2 separate regions of the Homo sapiens genome follow, and region 2 is linked to region 1. The links are contacts of gene promoters, found by promoter capture Hi-C in blood cells and fetal thymus (Javierre and others, 2016). All regions are on one chromosome and are shown on one strand. Each heading gives the region's core, a stretch centred on a gene start or on the middle of the fragment in contact. The rest is flanking DNA. Distances are from core to core; before and after follow the strand shown.

Evidence for each region. Contacts are between HindIII fragments. The CHiCAGO score rates a contact against its expected background, and 5 or more counts as called.
Region 2: the fragment with the promoter of YBX3 here is called in contact with a fragment that was not itself captured in region 1 in 6 of 17 cell types (fetal thymus, total CD4 T cells, M1 macrophages and 3 more); the score reaches 7.2 in fetal thymus.

The regions. Positions count from the first base shown.
Region 1 is chr12:11,485,224-11,491,207 of GRCh38, reverse strand. LOC440084 (a long non-coding RNA gene) reads left to right here and starts at 4,530. Exons shown (of 5, transcript NR_148969.1): 1 at 4,530-4,644; 2 at 5,057-5,159. The HindIII fragment of the contact is 1,627 bases long and covers 2,503-4,129 here.
Region 2 is chr12:10,720,343-10,726,326 of GRCh38, reverse strand. It overlaps YBX3 (Y-box binding protein 3), which reads left to right and starts at 3,004. Exons shown (of 10, transcript NM_003651.5): 1 at 3,004-3,477. The coding sequence starts at 3,216. LOC124902876 reads right to left here and starts at 3,275. Exons shown (of 2, transcript XM_047429946.1): 1 at 2,667-3,275; 2 at 1,009-1,290. The coding sequence starts at 3,217. The coding sequence ends at 1,221. LOC112268104 (a long non-coding RNA gene) reads left to right here. Exons shown (of 4, transcript XR_002957443.2): 4 at 48-135. RefSeq lists silencers at 2,889-3,108, 3,129-3,228, 3,359-3,758. The HindIII fragment of the contact is 1,699 bases long and covers 2,291-3,989 here.

The sequences.
Region 1 (5,984 bases), core at 2,067-4,566:
GAACCCAGTAACAACAAAGATCAAATGGACTGACTCTCTATTCTGTTGCATTGATCTATATGTCTCTCTTTATGTCAATATTATATTAACTTGATTACTATAGCTTTATTTTATTTAAAAACACAGAATTTAATATCTTCTTTAATTCACTAAATAGGATACAAAAAGCATGAACCACAAAAAAATGAGAAATTGGACTTCACCAAAATTTAAAACTTCTATTTTTTCCACACGCACTTTCTGCTTATCTAAAAAACTTGTTTTTTGAACAACACTATTAAGAAAATAAAAGCTGGGTGCAGTGGCATGCCCCTGTAGTAGTCCCAGCTACTTGAGATGCTGAGGTGGAAGGATTGCTTGAGCCCAGGAGTTTGATGATTGTAGTGTACAATGATTGCATGCCTCTGAGTAGTCACTGCACTCTAGCCTGGGCAGCATACATCTCTAAAATAGTAAGTAAGCAAATAAAATAAATTTTTTAAAATGAGAAGATAAGCCACAGACTGGGAGAAAATGTTTATGACACTTGCTAACAAAGGGCTAGTATCCAGAATATATAAAGCACTCTTACTACTTAATAATAAGACAAATAATTCAGAAAAAAAGTGGTGAAAAGATTTGAACAGACACCTAAATAAGGGTGGTGTATAAGTGCATGAAAAAATACTCAACATTATTATTCACTGAGGAAATGAAACTTAAATCCACAGTGAGATACCATAAAACACTCATGAGAATGACTAAAGTTAAAAAGACAGACAATACCAAGTGATGGTGAGAAGGTGAAGGAAATGGATCTCTCATGGATTTCTGGTAAGAATTCAAAATAGTAGCACCGTTTTGGAAAACGGTTTGTTAGTTACCTAAAAAGTTAAATATAAAGTGCCCATACGACCCATCAGTTCCACTCCCAAGAGGAATGAAAATATATGTCTACACTAAGGCCTGTATGTAAATGTTTATAGTTGATTCATCCATAAGAGCCACAAACTGGGAACAACCCAAATGTCCATCACCTGATGAAAGGAAAAACAAATTTTGGCATACCCACATGGTGGCATATTACTCAACAACAAAAGGAACAGACTGTAGATCCCCATGCCAGCATGGATAAATCTCAAGAGCATTTCATTAAATGAAAGAAATCAGACATGAAAGACTACATAGTATATGACTTCACTCGTGTAATATTCTGAAAAAAGTAAAACTGTAAACATAGAAATCAGAGAACAGGAGACAGGAGTTGGGAGTCAGAGGTGGGGATTAAAGACAGGGGAACCCTTTGGGGTGTGAAACATTTCCTATATGTTGATGGTGATGGTGCGTAAATGACTATATACAATTGTCAAAATTCATCAAGGTGTACACTTCAAAAAGATAAAGTTACTGTCCTCCCACTGCTGAATTTGACTGGCTTAAAAAACATAAATGTTACTGTATATAAATTATAACTCAAAAGTGATGAATAAAGGGGAAGAGAGCACAGAAGTTCTGTATTCTCCCAGAACTTTAGCAGGTAACTTGACTGTCCCAGTAATATTCTGAATAATTTTTAGCCATATGAAAAATAATTAGCAGGTACTTTGACTGTCCCAGTAATTATTCTTCATATTATTAAAAATTATTCATGTCTGTCCATAGTGCTTCACTAAGGTCAAGCTGTAACTTTACATGCTGAAAAAAGAAAAACAAGGAGAAAAAAATGAGACGATCTAAGGATGGATACTGGGATTAAAAAATAAAAACAGTTTATTTTATTTTCACAGAAAAAGACTGACCTGTTGAGCAAACTTCTTGATGGTGAAGGGCATGAGGATCCCATCTATTATTGACTAAACATTTATGAAGCAAAATTGTTCTACTTTGTTGTAATGACCACTGTATCTATGTTTTTCAGGTTCTACAGAGAGTACTACTAGATGGAAGTAGCTGTAATAAACCAGAGATTGTAAAGCAGTAAATTCTACAGGATAGCCTTTATTTGTAGCCTTCAACCCTTCTTCAGAGCTCCCTCTTCCTCTCCTTTCAGATAGAAAAATGATTTGGAAAAAAAACTACCCAAGATATTTGAAGTTTAATGGGTTAGTCCTCTGTGGGAATGAGCCTCCAGTGAAAGATGCTTAACACAAAGAAATTTCCTGTTAATAATGGTTTGTCACTTCAGTGGGGAAGGAATGGCCCAAAGCAGCCTCCTTTTTGACTCCTTGAATTGTATCATGTCAGTGATAATTTCCACTGCTGAGGTACTCATTCTAGGCAGCATCTAAAGAAAATTTTGTATTTCTTTCTGGTGAGTATCTTTTTCAATGTTTTAGCTTACAAAAGATGAGTTAAAAGGCAGGGATACACTGGAAGGTGGCTCACCTAGCTGTTATCACTGGCACTATGCTCTGATAGCTTTCCTTGTAGCTCTGGGGTTGGTTAACAGGTTTGGTTAACTCTGATTGTATGCTCACAAATTAATTTAATCCTCCATCCTCAGTCCTGTTTTAGTCTCAAGCTTCATGTTCTTCCCTGGTGAAGTAATCATCTTCCACACCTTCAGCTACCACCAGTATGCTGACAATTACCAAATCCATCTGTCTTGTGTCAAAAACGATATATTTGGCCACCTACTGGGCATCTCCAGTGGAATGGTAGGTAGACCTTTCTGAAACATGTATGCTTCCCATTATATTTCTTATTTGGGGATGGCACAAAGATCTATTCCGTCACCAAGGTCAGAAAATTGAGATTCAACTTTCTCTCCTTTTCTCTTATCACCTATATAAAATCAGGCTCCAAATCCTGAAGAATCTAAGTTCTTCATATTATTTCAAAACATTTGCTCCCATCCTCCTGTTCCCTGCCTTATTTCTGATCCCTCTGATCTCTTACACAGAGTCTACCACCTGTACTGGACGTTTATCTTTTATTTTTTGACCATTCCAGAATCTAGCCTCTTACTTCCTATTTTGGGGATCCTCTAGTTGTTCCTCCAATACCCATTTCCCTTCTTCCTAGTAGTAGGATTTTAATTGCCCACATGGCCACACAGGATCCTGACTTTGTTAGTTTTTCTTGTAGCTAGGTGTGGCTATGTCATGAAGTTCTGGACAATGGCATGTGACTAGAAGAGAGATATGCCACATCCAGGTTGTGCTCTTAAAAGAAAGGAACATGCCATCTTATTTTTCCCCCTTGCTCCTGCTAGCTGGAATGGAAAAGTGATGGTGGGAATCGGAGGAGCCATCTTGGGCTGTGCAACGGAACCCGTGAAGTATTGCAGAGTGAAAAGGCAGAGGCAGGCTGGGCCAGCAATAGCTTCACAAAGAGCTGCCAAACCAACTTGGGCCTTCGTAGGAGGAAGAAATACACTTCGGTTTGCGTCATTGTTAATTTTGGTCTTTGTTACTGTGGCCAGACAGATACCCTAACTAATGCTCATTTTATGAAGTCATAGCAGCTCATTATTCCTTACTCTGCTACCTGGCTACCAAGGCAAGGGCAAATGGCCTAAAGCTGCCAAGCTGGGATCCCACTGGGGTGATTAGGACTAATTCAGGGCAGTGGTGGCAGCGATGACCTATTGCAGCAGAAGCCTGTCAGATTCATGAGACGGCTGCTGTGCGTACTCCAAACTAGCTATGCTCCTGCCCATTTCCTAGTCTGATCTTCCAGCATCTTGATAACTTGGCGCATTTTTGATACATCTCCAATAAATTTCTCTTTTTATTTAAGTGAGCAGAATAGGTTTATATGACTTGTAACAAAAAAGACTCCAAACTGATGTACCAAATTTCGATTTCACTTTCTTCCAATCTATTCTCTATGCTTCTGCTGAAGTGGTGTTTGTAAACTGATTTAATCCTGTATTTTCCCTGCTTAATACTCATCAGTGATTCCCCAGTCATTGCCTCCAGGATAACCTCCTTAGTCAGGCATATGAAGCCTTCCATGATCTGGCCTCCTATGTCTCTCTTGGGACCTGTTGCTACACCTCGTGGTTCAGCCACGCTAAATCACCCAGCTAGCACAATATCTTCACATTGCCTGTATTTCTGCCTGGAATTCCTAACTCCTCCTTCTCATATCTACTTGTCAATTCTTATTCAAGAGACACCTTAGGGTTCCTTACCTCTGTAAAGCTTCCCTAACTGCCCCCACACTGGTCATCCGTAGTAGATAGACAACTCTGTCCTTTGGGCTGTACACTGTATCCTGTCCTTAATCATCTTTCTACCACCTCACCAGGACCTCACCTGCCTTCATGTCCGCCTCCACAATATTGCGCTACATTTCTACTTATAGCACCTGTTTTTTTTTGAATGATTGGTGCTTAGTATAGTAGACCTGTATTAAATAAAAGAAAAACATTTGAAAAGTTTAAAAATAAACCGATAGGTGGCAGCAGAGCCCTGCTGTTAAAAGTAACTTTTGCAGTTCTAAACGTTTTTAACCCTCATGAGCCAGCAGGTGGTGCTGTCTGACACCAAAGCGCCACGTCACAACGGATGCGCAATCACTATTTTATGTGAGTGCAGATTTGTATTAAAACCGGAAAGCATGGACACCCAGACAGCTTACTGTCAATGACTGTACTATTCACTGTCTTCAACAAAAGTCAGCTATTCCAGGAAACTCTCGTCCAGAAAGATAAAAATTGCAAGTAACTGTTTTTTGTTTCAGGAAATTCCCCAGAAAACAACCCTTGAGAAAACCAGACTGTTCAACTTTCCCGCTGATAGCGCTGAACAACCTTTTACTCCTCAGGACTCTTCAAAATCCATGGCATTTACTGATCCTTAATTACCACATCACGATCTTTACCAAATTCTGATCAACCTCATGCCCCCACCTTGAAAGACCCACCTTCAATGTTATAAATATCCCAACTTTGGCACCTGGCTTTGAGACACTACTAAGAATCTAGATAGTGTGAACCCAAAATATCTGAGACAGGTCTCAGTCAACTTAGAAAGTTTTTTTTTTTGCCAAGGTTAAGGACGTGCCTCAGGAGGTCCTGACAGCATGTGTCCAAGGTGGTTGGGGTACAGCTTGCTTTTATAAATTTTAGGAGAATGAGACATCAATCAATATGCGGAAGATTTACATGGTTCGGTCTGGAAGGGTGGGACAATTCGAAGGGTGAGGAGAGAAGAGGAGCTTCCGGGTCATAGGTAGGTTTAAACATATTCTGATTGGGAATTGGTTGAAAGAGTTACGAAAGGAATGTCTGGGTTACCAGGAGGGGTTGTAGAGACCACGGTTTTATCATGAAGATGAAGCCTCCAGGTAGCAGGCTTTAAAGAAAAATAGATTGTAAGTATTTCTTATCAGACTTAAGGTCTGTGTTAATGTTAATGAGGCATGTCCAACCCTCACTTCCCGTCACGGCCTGAGCCAGTCTTTCAGGTTAAATTTTACATGCCCTGGCCAAAGAGTTAGTCCATTCAGATCGTTGCCAGGGGCCTTCAAATTCTATTTTTGGTTTACCGCAGGGGTCTCCTACCCCTGCAATAACTTTACCTAAAGGTATCCTGTTAGGAACCAGGCTGCATAGCGGGAGGTGGGAAGCAGGCAAGTGAGCATTACTGACTGAACTCCGCCTCCTGTCAGATCAGCAGCAGCTTTAGATTCTCATAGCAGTGCGAACCCTATTGTGAACTGTGCATGTGAGGGATCTAGGTTGTGTGCTCCTTATGAGAATCTAATGTCTGATGATCTGAAGTGGAACAGTTTCATCCCCAAACTATCCCCACCTGACCACCCCATCCGGAGAAAAATTGTCCCATGGAAGCTGTCCCTGGTGCCAAAAAAGGTTGGGGACCAGCAGTTCACAGTAGCCATCTCCCTATGGCGGTGAGCAATAAACTCAACTTTGCCTTATGAAAAGGTTCTTTCACTGGTGTTTGAGAGAAGCCGGCATTTGACAATATATGTCAACCTAAACAAACAAAAGTATTTTAGGGCTTTGCTACTCAGAGTGTGGGGTTGGTTTAAAA
Region 2 (5,984 bases), core at 1,755-4,254, 760 kb after region 1:
AATTCTCCTCAATCTCCTTAGTCAATTAATTGCATTTTCTTCCTTAGGGTGATATGCTGGATAGCCTCCTGTCAATTTAGCATCAACTTTAGCTTCTTCAAATGCAGAGACTACATTTCCCAGAATCTCCCTCCCGGCCTGTATATTTCCAAGTTGGAATCTAACAATGAGAGCCTTTCGCTCAAAGTTTAGAAGGAAGAAGAGAAGACCATTATATACCAGAGTCAGTTATAGAAAGATGCATCGGCATCAAAGCTGCTTCCAGATGAACTTCTTGAGGACTTACTGCATCGGTGTTGCTGACTGAGATAGCAGGTGCAGGAGTAAAGCTAATGAAGTTTAAATTTCAGGGCTCCTGTCTTGCACGGACCCTTTCGAAGACTCTGGGAGCAGTCCTAGCATTTTAGTATTCATAACTTTATTTTATCTCAAAAAGGGCTCTCTAAATTGTATTAGTTTTAAGCATCACAAAACCTGAATCCAGCCCTGAATTGCTGAGAACTTCCGAAAGATCTTGTGGCTCCAGTGGCTTCAGGAGAACTCCTGAGAACCACTGTCTTGGGGACTGGAGGCTGAGATCTTCAGTGGAGCTTCTCTGAGTTTCCCTCCTTCAGCCCTTCCAACAGTTGTGAGAGCTTTAACTTCCTCCATACTAGGAACAGAGTGGCATTTGTTTTTATGATCAAACCAATAATTGCTTAAAAATGACTGCTGTCAGCAATTAGATTATAATTCTTTGTTGACTTACTCTTAAACTTAGTAAATGATGATATTGTCTTACAATAGAAATGTTGATAGTGAAAAATAATTTTAACATCATATCAAAAGACCTTACAACCGGCTCCATTTTGGTCAACATTGGATACTCACAATGGTGTACTTTGTCCGGGACATAGCATTTGCTTAGCAAATATGAGTGTATGAATTAGTGAATGAAGGAATGGATAAATTTATGTGTATCTGTATCCAAGTTGCTTCCTACTTATGATTATTAAAACATAGATCATATTTGTTCTAATTTTCTTTAGATTTATTTAGTACAATACCAACAACTTCCAGCTGCTCACTGCTTTGTTTGGATGACAATGATGAGTAGTTTTGGAAGCCAGTCCAGCACAAATTCTAGGAAATCCCAGGGTGCATCTGTAATTATTTTAGGGTCTTCCAGAGGTTGGAGATCACACCTGTTAGTTATGAATTACTTCCAAGGATGAATTTTTTTAAAAGGCTTTACTGTTGGATCGGTTTGAAGAGTTCAATCTCCTTACTTTTTTTTCTTGTAATGTAATTCTGAAAGGTAAATAGCAATGATAATCATTTTGCTGAATAAGAAAGTCAATGGTCAGTCCTCACCAGAATAAATCATGTTTATAATTTAATTGTAATTAAGACCATAATCTTTCACATGAAGAAATAATTTAATCATTCTTAGAATTAGACCAGCATTTTAAAAGCATCTACATTTATATAACATCACTGTATGCTCCATACTGAAGTCAAACTAAAATATGAATCTAACATTTAAGAGTTTGTAATTTTTTAAATATTGATGAATTACATAGAAAAGCTCAAAATTACATAATTTGCTATTTTTTCAAATAACTTATTTTCTTTGTGTTTTTTGTGGATGAAATAAGAAAGTAAGAATTCAGGAAAGTTTCATAATAATTGATAGCAAATGTGCAGATAAGTAATTGAGTTTGGAAGAATTTGGTCTGTTTTCATTTTGTAAACATTCACTATGTCCAAACTCTGTGCTACGTACTGTACTAACCAGTGGAGATACAAAGATGAATTACACTTGATAGTTACCCTACTGATGTTAAGGTAGACATCGACATTACAGACATATTCCTGGAAAAAAATTTGGTAAATTGTTTGAGGGAACAGGCAATAACTTAAAAAACAAACAAAACAAAGGAGCTTTAGGTGGACCGGACACTGGAGTGACACATGATAATCTCATCTACTTTTCATGTCACCTTTGAGAACCTCTCATAAAGCAGGAAACCGACTCTGGGACATTGAATCTCTGTCCCAAGTTAACCTGGTTAATAAAAAACAAAGCCAGAATTTATACCTAGTCTGTCTGAACCCTAGGGGCCAAATAGTCCTGTATTCCAGACAGTCTTTGGGTACAGATCCCAGACCCTCTGGCCCTGTGTTTACTACCATCCAGCCCATTCTCAAAGGGCATGTGGGCTCTTCAACTTGGGAATAATGTTTATTGGGTGATCTGTTTCTCTATACCTCTCATCCTCGAGGCTAAGAGGGCTCAGTTCCTTAAGCTTTCACCAGCTGGCAGAGGCAACTGGAGCAGAAGGTAGGAAGTGGATTTATTCAGCTTTTTTTGTGTGTGTTCCTTATTAAATATATATTGACAGCTCCTTATTTGTTGCGGTTAAATTGGTGTAAACTCTGAATTTACATTAAATCTGTGAGGTCAATTTCCTCATCTGCGTGTTACAGATGAAATTATCCGTATATTACCTTTCAGGAGTAAGTTGCCAAATAGTCTTAAGGTTTTATTATTCCAGGTCTTAACAGCTGTGCTACGAATAGCTGCTGGTGCTTGATACATGTTGAATGACTGACTAGATGCAAAGGATTTAAAAACAAGTGTTTGAGAGGGTAAAGCGCAGAGTAGTTTGGGTGCCCTATTTTACCTCTCCTTGTCAGCTGCGGGTGTCAAGACGGGTTGAGGGAGGAGAGCCAATGCACCCCGCTCCAACAAAGGGTCAGCAGCGCGGGCTCCTCGGAACGCTCCAGAAGACAACCCGGGCGCCCCGTTCACCCTGGCTTTCCTTGGTTCTGCAACGCGACCCGCGCGCTCGCGTCCCGGCGGATTGGAGCCATAGAAAGCGCACCGGGCGCCTTTAAATGCTAATGAGAGTCCAGGGCCCGACTCCCGAGCCAAGTTTCCCCACCCTCTCCCCTCGCCCGCCCTTCCCTCCCGGGCCGGTGCGCCGCCTAGAAAAACTTGTGCGGGGCCATTTTTGGGGCAGTAAGATCGAGCGAGGAGCCCAAGAGAGAGCGCGCAGCACGAAGCTCGAGCCGCCTCCGCCGCGCGACCCCACCTCGGCCGCCGCCGCCTGCGCCGCGAGATCCGCCCCGGCCTCCCCGAGAGCGAGCCCCGGCCGCCGCGACCACCAGCCGCGCTAACCGCCGACCAACCGCCACCGAGGCGCCTGAGCGAGAGCAGAGGAGGAGGAGGCATGAGTGAGGCGGGCGAGGCCACCACCACCACCACCACCACCCTCCCGCAGGCTCCGACGGAGGCGGCCGCCGCGGCTCCCCAGGACCCCGCGCCCAAGAGCCCGGTGGGCAGCGGTGCGCCCCAGGCCGCGGCCCCGGCGCCCGCCGCCCACGTCGCAGGAAACCCCGGTGGGGACGCGGCCCCCGCAGCCACGGGCACCGCGGCCGCCGCCTCTTTAGCCACCGCCGCCGGCAGCGAAGACGCGGAGAAAAAAGTTCTCGGTGAGTCAGGCCAGGGAGGGCAGGGGCTGCCGTAGTGGGGCGGGCCCAGCCGGCCGCGGAGCACGTGTGGGCAGCTCGCGCTACATCTCCCACCCGGGCTGGAGACGCTGACAGCACAGGGTCCCCAGGGATCTCCGGGTCCCCAGGGGTCTCCGGGTCCCCAGCGCTGGCCGCCTCCCTTGCCGGCGCTCCCAGGTGAGCGCGCTGCGCCCTGCGCTCCTGGCGGCCGTGTGCATCTCCCTTCTGGTTCCGGGCCAGAAAGTTTAGGTCTTAACTTCTGTCTCCCAGACGGGCACTGTTGCGGATTCGCGTGGTGGAAAATGCCTGCGTTTGGAGAAGAAAGGAGAGGCAGTCTGGGAGAGGGGACCTTGGGTAGGGATGGATGTAGGGGAAGGACCGACACGTGGGCCTGGCGCTTTGGGGTCCTTGCTTGGGATCTGGGAAAGGAGAGCATTTCCTTTGGGGAAGAGGAGGGCGCTAGAAGGAGACGGGGAGGGAAAGATAGAAAAGCTTCTTGCCAGGAAGGGTCAGGTGTCTGTCCCTGACGCCCTTCCCACATGGGCATGGGAAAGACGCCATGCTCCTGTTGGCCACATGCCAGCAAAGAGATGTTGCAATCGTCTCCGGGAAACTTGGGTCTTAGTCCCACGTCTTCCTCCCCCTCTCTGTGCCCACGGCTGCAAACAGCCATTCAGTGTCCACCAATGGCTACACGCTTCCCTCTTCCCGGACTGTGGGAACGCACGTGGTGTAGCAGCTGAAAAAACTTTGTCGGAAGTGGGGGTATGACGTTAGTTCAAAACATTGTTACCTTGGCACTTGTAACGTAGGAAGGGAAACAGGAAGATGAAATGTTGAGATTTGGGGGGGCAGTGGATGGAAAGGGTTTCTGTGATGGTTGTTGGTTTAGTCACATAACAAGCGTTCTTTTCGTAAGTAACGCCCCTGTGTGAGTTCTTAAACGCTTGCAAAGCAGGTGGGTGGTGAATAACCTCCCTAAAGGGTGTGTGTCCATATCGTTCGCTCTTATAAACAGGAACGTTAACAGATGGTGTAGGATGCTTCGGAGACCTCTTCACTATTTGGGGTGGGGCATGTTTGTCTCATCTCTCTGAGCCCTACTTCCCCTTTGGGAAGAAAGTTGAGGGAGCAATGTGAGAGAAGTGTATTCAATATTCCCCACCTTGAGAGGACTATTTTCTTGTTTTTTTTTTCTAGGGCTTTTACTAAGTCCCTACCAAACAACATGCTAATTGTAACCTGTGTAGGTTAAGAAACAAAATAGGCCTGATTTTGCTGGACTAAAAGTTGCTTAAATCTAGTCAGTAGTACATTGTGATGTTGTTTCTAGCAAATATTTCTTGGAACACTTTCTGCCAGATGTCTGAGAGAGAAAACCTTGTGTTCTCCAAAGCAGTGTTAGGATAACATTGTTAATGATACCTTATTTTGTAGAAAGCTTTTGCGGTTTTTCACTTAATCCTGTACTGTTCTGAGATTGGGAAAGCAGATACTATCTTTAAAGATGAAGGAAACAGATAAATGAAGGTTAATTTCCTCAAGCAACTGCCTCTGCAGATCCCTGGTGATGAGTCTGATGCCTTTTATCTTTCCACTCTTACTGCGTCTCTCTAAAAATGAAGGACAGCCCTTTCTACGTGACACCTCAACACTGTTTGTCTCTGTCTAGTGTGTCCTGCCATCCCCTTTCCTTTGCCAAGCAAACACATAGATGCCTAAGATGTACTAGGCACAATGCTGACTAAAATGGATATGTTCTAGTATTTGCAAATGGGCCTTCACTTGAGTTTATAAGCACATAGGCCAGGAAAAATAGTTTTCATGAGTGCAAAAAAATTTTCCTTCTGATAAATGTTATGGAAATCTATGGTCTTCCTCCCCAACCCTTCCCCTTAGTGTATATGAAGTGGGTTTATGGTTTAAAGCAAGACGTGGGAATGAATTTGATCATAAGAAGTCCTTGGAGAAGTATTTGCGGAATTACGAAACTTTTTTAAACTACATTGGAGAGTAAAAATAACCTTCAGCTTGGATTGAGGTTAGACCTGAGAATTATTTATCATCTTTTTCCTTTATTATTAGTATTGTCATTTTAATCAAGATTATTCCTTCAACAATGCTAGATATTAAAAACAGTTCCAGTCTTTATATTTTCCCAGGTAATTAATTTTTTGGGCAAATGAAAAGAGGCACTAAACGCATATTATTTGGAATATTGCCTGACTTAAATGCATATAATGTATCAAAAACAGGCCTCTACTGTGTACATTTGCATCGAAAACATCAACTGTTTTTTTCTCCTTTGCCTTGCTGCTCCAATCAGAGTGGCCTCAAACGTAAGATGGCCTGGGTTTGATCTCTCCTTTGGAGAGATGAGAGATCTTTGGAATTAAAGCTGGAGAATGCCTCATCAGTGTAGACTGCATAACTTTGGAGATATAAAGACATGTTTTTTTTGTTTTGGATTTTCTTTCCCCCAACAAAGA